Regions from separate parts of the Homo sapiens genome. Here region 1 is linked to region 2. The links are contacts of gene promoters, found by promoter capture Hi-C in human tissues and cell types (Jung and others, 2019). All regions are on one chromosome and are shown on one strand. Each heading gives the region's core, a stretch centred on a gene start or on the middle of the fragment in contact. The rest is flanking DNA. Distances are from core to core; before and after follow the strand shown.

The links. Contacts are between HindIII fragments. The study calls those that stand out against the background at their distance.
Region 1: a fragment that was not itself captured here is called in contact with the fragment with the promoter of M6PR in region 2 in 1 of the 25 tissues and cell types used here (lymphoblastoid cells).

The regions. Positions count from the first base shown.
Region 1 is chr12:9,254,185-9,258,130 of GRCh38, forward strand. It overlaps LINC00987 (long intergenic non-protein coding RNA 987), which reads left to right. Exons shown (of 7, transcript NR_137434.2): 5 at 1,375-1,508; 6 at 3,739-3,807. It also overlaps the pseudogene A2MP1. Among named protein-coding and RNA genes, the nearest start is that of LINC00987, 16 kb to the left of the region's middle. The HindIII fragment of the contact is 4,482 bases long and covers 1-3,918 here.
Region 2 is chr12:8,947,327-8,951,117 of GRCh38, forward strand. It overlaps M6PR (mannose-6-phosphate receptor, cation dependent), which reads right to left and starts at 2,319. Exons shown (of 7, transcript NM_002355.4): 1 at 2,162-2,319. It also overlaps a transcript of KLRG1 not described here. RefSeq lists enhancers at 1,583-2,488, 2,489-3,393, 2,892-3,021 and a silencer at 2,699-2,913. The HindIII fragment of the contact is 13,158 bases long and covers 1-3,791 here.

The DNA of each region.
Region 1 (3,946 bases), core at 428-2,927, 310 kb after region 2:
CAGTCACCTGAAATTCTAAAGCAGTGTGGAACTGTTCATCATGATTGGAGATTTACTGGTCCATTTAAAAAAAATAAATATCTAATATACAGCCTAAGAGTTCATTGGTTCAGACAATTTAAAAAATGGTGAATAAAGAACAACAGGAAATTGTGCAGAATCTTCCCAAAGATTTGCTTCTACTTTGGCCAAAAAAATTAATTGGCAAGATAATCTATTAGTTCCTTCTGTTGATACCGACATTTCTTGAGTAGTATCTGAGTTATATAGTAGTAGCATCAGGTAACTTCCTTGATTCTTGGACTGAAAACTGATTTTTATTGGAATGAAATATCAGTATGTTTAGCTAAATAACATCTGACTTAGGTTGCTAAATTTCACTATGACAATCCAGCTTTATGGTCTACTGAATTTAATATAGCAGTTTGGAATCACTTATCATAAGACATATATGAAAAAAATCAATAATTATTTATCTTCAAGATGCAATAGTATTCATCTTTCTAACTCAATATACTATGAAAACATTGCTTATGGAGAATCTCTTTAAAATATATTTGCTTTTATTTTTAGAAAATTTAAGTTCATTAAAATATGTTAGTTACTGTCCATGTCAAAAGAACAGGTAATTTGGGATTATAATAAACTAAAAACACTATTAGCAAGAAGTGGACATGTTAGAAAATAGAAAATGTTTTACTGATATGAAAACCAAAACATAACTTTAAGGCATATTTCAAAGGAGTCTGTACCTCATATATTATATTAATTACTACCAATGTTATTCTTAATGAATAATTATATCTGGTTGAGTATAACAAATGATTCCAACTATTACATAATTTTTAATGTGTATGCCAAATCTGTTGTAAGTGAAGAAATAAGTATATGAAGTTTGAATAGAAAACTATTTTTCTCTGTCTCAGCAAAGATTGAAAAAAATTTAAATGTATCGTTTTGCAGGGATGCATGTCTGACTTGGGGTCTTTCCTCACATCCTCAGTGCACTATTTATTTGCTCATCATCCCACCAAGATGTCTAACTTTTAGGGTGCTTAATTTGTAATTTTAATAGATCTACTGTTTTTCTAATTTTTGTGGTAGTCAACTTTCTTCTGAATCTTCTTATGAATCTTTGTTCATATTATTTTTTACAGCTGATCTTCAATTCTGATCAATGATGATTTTAAAGGTATTTAACGTGAAGTGATTGAATATAATGTCCGTGGGCTTTTACTTCTATGGTGAAGTTTTATACTGTTGCACAGGGACTGTCATATGTTTTGCAAAATCAGAATTGTTTTTCAGACTGGATTCCAGGGAGAAAATTACTTTTCTGCCAATTCTGTTTTATAATGCTTCTCTCATTTCTAGGGTGTGAAGAGGATACTGACCCACCAGAAAGAGACCCCACTGCTAGAACGAATAAGATGTGCTGAAAGCCGGAGCATAACTTGGCCATTCCCAAGATTTAACAACAAACTAACTACCCATCATTAACAGTAAAGGTATTGAAGCATGAAGGAGTCTCTTCTCAGTGGGTATGAAACACACAGAAGTCCAAACAGAACAGACACTAAGCTTCTTGGACACACCATCCAGGTTTAATAGCACTCTTTAGTAAGGTGGAATTAAAGGTTTACATCAGAATACACTGTGTATTTTTCTTATTTCACTGTATATTTAAAACAAGACAACCTAAATATAGATCTCAGGGCAGAAATGTTCACTTGCTATAAACACATTTTGTTTTAATCTCCACAAAGCCCATGTTAAAAAAAAAATCCTTCCAGGTGTATTTGAAAACAGGCATCTGAAGTAGGCGGCTCTTATCTGATCGCTAATGTTATGATTATGCTGCTAGAGTAGTGAAAATCAGATAAACAGCACCAAGTTCTGTTGGAATAAAGCATACTTATATCTCAGTGAGCTTCACATGGCAGCTTTGTATTCCTTAAATAAAAAATATGCCATCTGAACCTATGTTAAATTTTTGTGCTATCATTATTTTTAAAGTGTCCAGGCTGTTTCTCATCTGTTCTGTATTATTAAGCTGAGTTTAAACTCATGACAACCTACTGCTGTCTGTAGTGGTACATGGAAGTGTGCCAGTGTATGATGGGGTAAAATTGGCACAGCCTTGTGAGGCATCATTTTTAATCAAAATATTAGTAACAAAACATTTTAAAATTAAAACTATTAAAGGCTTATAGGTGACTTGATTTTGAAATTCATATGAATTTTATAACAAAACAAGAGACTTTTAAAAAACTGTGTTTGTGGTTGCCTGTTTTGGATGTCAGCACTAGACCTCTCAGTATGACATCACCCCCTGCCTTTAGAAGTAGCTGGGAGGAATGTTTTAGGAGCACTGTATGCCTAATTTCCTAATTTCCTTCTTTTCCACACATCACAATGGGAGAAGAATAAAAGGACTAGTCTTAAACAAAACAACCCACCTTGTTGGCAAAACAGTTTTCAATCTCAAGCTTGTCAGTGTCTGCAACAATTTCTCCATTAGGTAAAACAGTGTAAACAAGCAGATGAGCACTAGGAGCAGAGTCTGATTCCACTCGAAAGGAGAAGGAAAACACCCCTTTCACTGGAGAATTTAAAAAGAAGAACAAGTTCAGAATAACACATTAGCAACAGAATTATCAATTTGATTTTTTAAAAAGGCATTTCCAACTATAGACTTTATTTACATTTGGATCACACTGAAGTAAGAAAAGACTTTATACCACTGTGCAGGTAGTAGTGTTCAATAAATATATGCTGAGCTAATGACATTTTCCCTTAAAGATATAGGTTTAATTGTTCATTTCCTCTGTTTAAGTAGGAAAAAGACATTTAATGCTTGTCTCTATTTCTAAATTGAAAAATATTATTGAGAAAGGAGTCAAGAGAGAAGAAAGAGAACTTCTAGACATGTTTGGTTATAATTCTTGTGTGTGTAAGGGCAATATAAACAATGCAACAGTCTTTTCCTTCAGGCCATTTATAATACAGCAGGGATACAGATACAAATCACATAAAAAGCCTTGTGAGCCTTTGATTTTTATAATAGAATTCTGTGTGTTCATCTCAGTGGTTGTCCTCTGTGTGAACTACATAGAGCTTATGTAACATTCCACTTGATTATTTTCATAAATGTTCTAAGTTTGATCTTTGTAGCATAAAATTATTCTTTAAAAATTGTACCCTTCCTGTATCTATAAAAGATTTGAGGGCAGCTTTCATGAAAATACAGAGAAACAGCAGAGTCAAAATAATTTGAAACAGTAAGACGAAAGCCAAATGAATGTGGAATTCTGAAGCAGGGTTAAACATAGGAGTTAATTTTATTAGGAAGCTGCAATGAAATGGTTATTACACTAGAGTACTTAAGTTTTTCACTGAGTTTCCGAAATGTCAAAGACAAAGTCAAAACAATCATTTACATAGCTGTCATTAAATAAAATGAAGTATATTTTTTCTTAAAGAGAGGGACACTTCTTCTTCCCATCCCACCACCTTAGGACCCAATCCATACAGGATTTAAACTCTACTGCAGAAACAAACTTTGAAGATACTGCTTTGTGAGGCAGTGACTTTTTCATATGTTATTAGAGACAACCTTACCTGCTCTAAAAAAATCAATACAATGTCCAATAACATAAAATCAGGGATTAAATGGAAATTTAGAGTCGATGTTTCATATTTGAATGAACGTATTCAAATTTTGTGCTTTATTTCAAGCAGAAAGAAAACAATCAGTAAGAGATTATATAGACCTAAGAGATGTTACAGACCGAAGAAGAACCTATGGTGAGTGGCGTTTTAGAGTGTGGGTACTGCATCCTTATCATGACCTTAGAAGCCTCTTTCTGGCTCAAAAAGACTGGGAGAAAGTCTATGAAAAAAAGGTTTTCATCTAGAAGTAGAGTTACAGGAAATTTATTAAGAG
Region 2 (3,791 bases), core at 1,069-3,568:
AAATGGAAGCTCCAACCTTGGCCGTGAATGCACTTTCCCCATTCCCCTAAACAACCTAACATCTGACCTTCCACTTCCCACACCCCACTAAAGCAAAAAATCCCGGGAAATTGTCTACCTGACTTCCTGTACCCCAAACATCAATTCTCTACTGTAATATTATGGTAGTTTCCATAGAATAATCATAGCTAACCAAGAGGTCCAAGGCCCTCATAACACATTTAATGCACTGAAACCACACAACAGCAGGAAACAACAGACTACTGCCTTGGGCCAGGTGCTGTTCAAAGCACTTAACATATATTAATTAACTAATTAATCCTCACAACCTTATGAGTAAATACAATTATTGTTGCTATTTTACCAGTAAGAAAACTGAGACACAGCTAGTGGAGTGAGCCAGAGAGTCTAGCTCCAGAGCTCATGGTCTGTGTTGAACAACTACATGTATATTTCCACTATGTGCATAACAATTTTTTGGAGATGAGAGTAGACAGCCAAAACTGTGGGTTTTTTTTTTTTTCTACTAAGAAGTGAAGGGGAAGTGATTCCTCACACAGTTGACTGAATAGGAGGTGAAATAAAGAACTCAGACCTCCAACTCCCACCTTCCCTAAGTTAACCCACTGCTCAACACACAACTTGACCAGCTGACTCACTAAAAAGAAATAGGAGACTCCTTCTTCTAGACTGACTTAGCCTGCCATTTTCCTTTCCAGTCTCTCAGGACCTAATTAAAAACTGACAGTTGATTTCTTTTCCTAAATTAGAACAAGGAATCTCACAAAATTAGGAAGGGATGAAAGGTTAAACACCTCAGCCATTAGCTGAGTTGAACTATCTTTCATTTGCTTATTATTCAAAAAGTTAGGATAATAAATTTATACTGTATTCTTCTTTCCTGCTTAAGGCTTGTCTTTAAATTTAAGCTGCTTCTCTTTAATTCAGTGGCATATGCGCTAAATGTTTTCCCTAGATTATGTTCATTCATCTTCACAACCCAGAAAATAGGTATAATTTTTCATACTTCACAGATGAGAAAACTGATGCTTTACAGAATTACTTGTTAAATTACTTGCTGTACATTACACAGATATTAAATGTGTGTGAAGTTACTGGGGCAATTTAGACGATTCGTGGCATAAAGATAACTGCTGGAAAACTTATAAACATAGGGGTGCAACAATCAGGAAGAGAATGAAATGGAAGGGCCCAGTAGCCCCCTTTTAATATGCTACAATTAGATTCTCAAGGTACAAGAGTTTGTCTATATACTTTGGAAATAAGGAGCAGGATTTTATGATCTTGAAAAATCTTTCAGTTTTCTTATTCTCTAACGACAGATCTATTTTATTTGGCAATGCTAAAAATTATCCTTTATTAGGGTGGCCAATGACTAAGCCAGCAACTGGGAAGCAGCTTACACCACTGGGCCTCTGTAGCACTCACTTCCCCATCTGTTAAGACAGCCATGGCCATTTACCAGTGGAATTTCTACTGTCTTCCCGCTGGCTCCTTTCTGATGTAGCAGTCCTTATCCCTTTTTCTCCAGCAGCCTACATGTTTAGAAAAGCAGCCTCAATTGGCTAAAAGGCCTAATGCTGAAAGAACTCAAGAGAGAAGGAGCCTCAGACAAGTAGCGGCTATGTCCCAAGAGCGGAAGCTCCCCACAACGAGGAACACAAGATAATCCGTCCATCAGCCATTCTTATCCACACCACAGTCGCATCCCCCTCAAAGCTCTCCCAGGGTGCCAGAAATTCTCGCTCTGTCTAGTGTCCCGACTTTCCAAGCGCTTGTAGCCATACCCTCTCCAAATGATGCCACTTGACCTCCCACCGTGATGCAGGCCAAAATTCCTCCTACAAATAAATCCACCAACACCTCCAACGGACTCCATACTTGGGGTATTTTCCTTTCCCTGCTTTCTAAATATCGTAAATCCCCTCTCTGGTCTTGGAAGTCCTTTCTCCCTCACACCTTTCGGAACTCCGTGACTCTCCGCTCTCATGCCTCCGCCTCCATTCTACCCTTAGGGCTCCTCAGCCAGATCTTTGGCTAGAACCATGGTCAAGGGAGAATGCGATTCCGGCTCCTGTCACAGACGCTTAAGTGTGAGCGCAACCCAGCCCGCCTCCTCCTCCACGCCCCTCACACTCACGTGTCGTGGGAAACTGGAGTAGCCAAAGCTCAGAATCCCCAGTGAATACCCTTCTGGGGATGGGAGACGGGGCCAGCTAGGGGCCGGCCGCAGACCCCGGTCCCAGAGCTAGTTTCAGAGGCCAGCGTTCCCCCTAGCGCCTCGCTGTGCCCCACTCTGGGAACCGGAAACAGGAAGCGCCAAGAGGCCGCTGGGCAACCGCTCCTCCCACCAGACCCCGCGGCATGTGACCATAGAACCATTTCGCCCCTTTCCCCTTCCCGGGCTCCCTGATAATCTTAAACTCTGATTGGCCAGTATTCTGGGACTTTAGCTCCGCCCTCGTTCCATCAGCTCCAATCACTATCGAGGTTGTCGTTTCGCCTTTTCTGGTTGCCTTTCTTTCAATGGGGTCCCAGAGTCCCGCTTCCAGGGCCTCTCGGCTCGCGCACCCCGGTCACGCGGGGTCACGCGCCTGACCGCTCCCGGGTAGGGTTCGAGTGAAGAGGGTGAGAGGGGCAGGTGGCGGAAGCGGAAGTTACGCAGGCAGCTCGCCCTCGGGCTCCGCGGGAGTTGTAGTTCTCACGCTAGGTCTCCTCCGGGCGCTTCCCTAGCCCGTTCGCCGCCTGAGAGGGACGCTGTTCCGCCGCGTGGAAGCTTCGAGTCTCGACTCCACTGTTGACCCCTAGACGAGAGTAGTGCAGCGACGGGGCCGTGATGTGCGTCCTGGCTTTCTTAACGACACCTCTCCTCTGTATTTCCTTTTTCCAGTTGAGTACCTTGGGGTGAATTATTATTGTTACTGTTATCTCTGTCGTTCCTTACTGCTTCGTGGTATTTTGCTTGATAAGCATGCTCTGCAACCACCTCTGTTCGCCAGAGGTTACTTCTGCAAAGTAGGAAGAAACGAGCAATACGATGGTAATCTTTGCGCCTTTGCTAAGATCTTTTGTAGGTTCCTTATGTCTTACTAGCCACTTGTTGAAGTCCTGCTCATTCTTAAACTCTGTTCAGATGTTATTTTTCCTGTAACTTCGTGCATTCACTCTCTTCAGAATTAACAATTTCTTCCTGTGGACCCTCGCTTGTGGCTTGTACCTGGCTTTAGCATGTTTTCATTCCGCTTCCACTCTTACGTTGCTTCTATGTGTGCCTCTCTGGCTCTATGCAGGTGCCTGGATTTTTGATTCTTACCCCTCTCATTAGAACTACTACAGTGTTTTGAGTCTAATAATAATAAAAGCTAACGGATGCATATCTCGGTGGTGCCCGGCACTTTTGTAAGTGCTTTAAACGATAGTTAATTCACTTGGTCTTCACACCAACCTTATGAGGAAGTATCTTATCCCAAGTTTACAGATGAGTAAATTAAAGCAGATAGAAGCTAAGTAACACCGTGGGTCCCAAGCTATTAAGTTATGGAGCCAGTATTTAAATAGTCTCCATAATCCATGCTCTCAAGCACTACGCTTTACCGACTGTATGCCATTCTGCATTTCTTTGTTTATTAGTAATACATTCAGTTCAGGCTAGGTAGTAATCATATCTGGGTTGGATGTTGCCCCAATAAAAAAAAAAATTAAATTTTTTTCTTCCTGAAAATGAAAGTAATTTGTGATCAGATAACACAGAAAACAACAAAACAAAAATC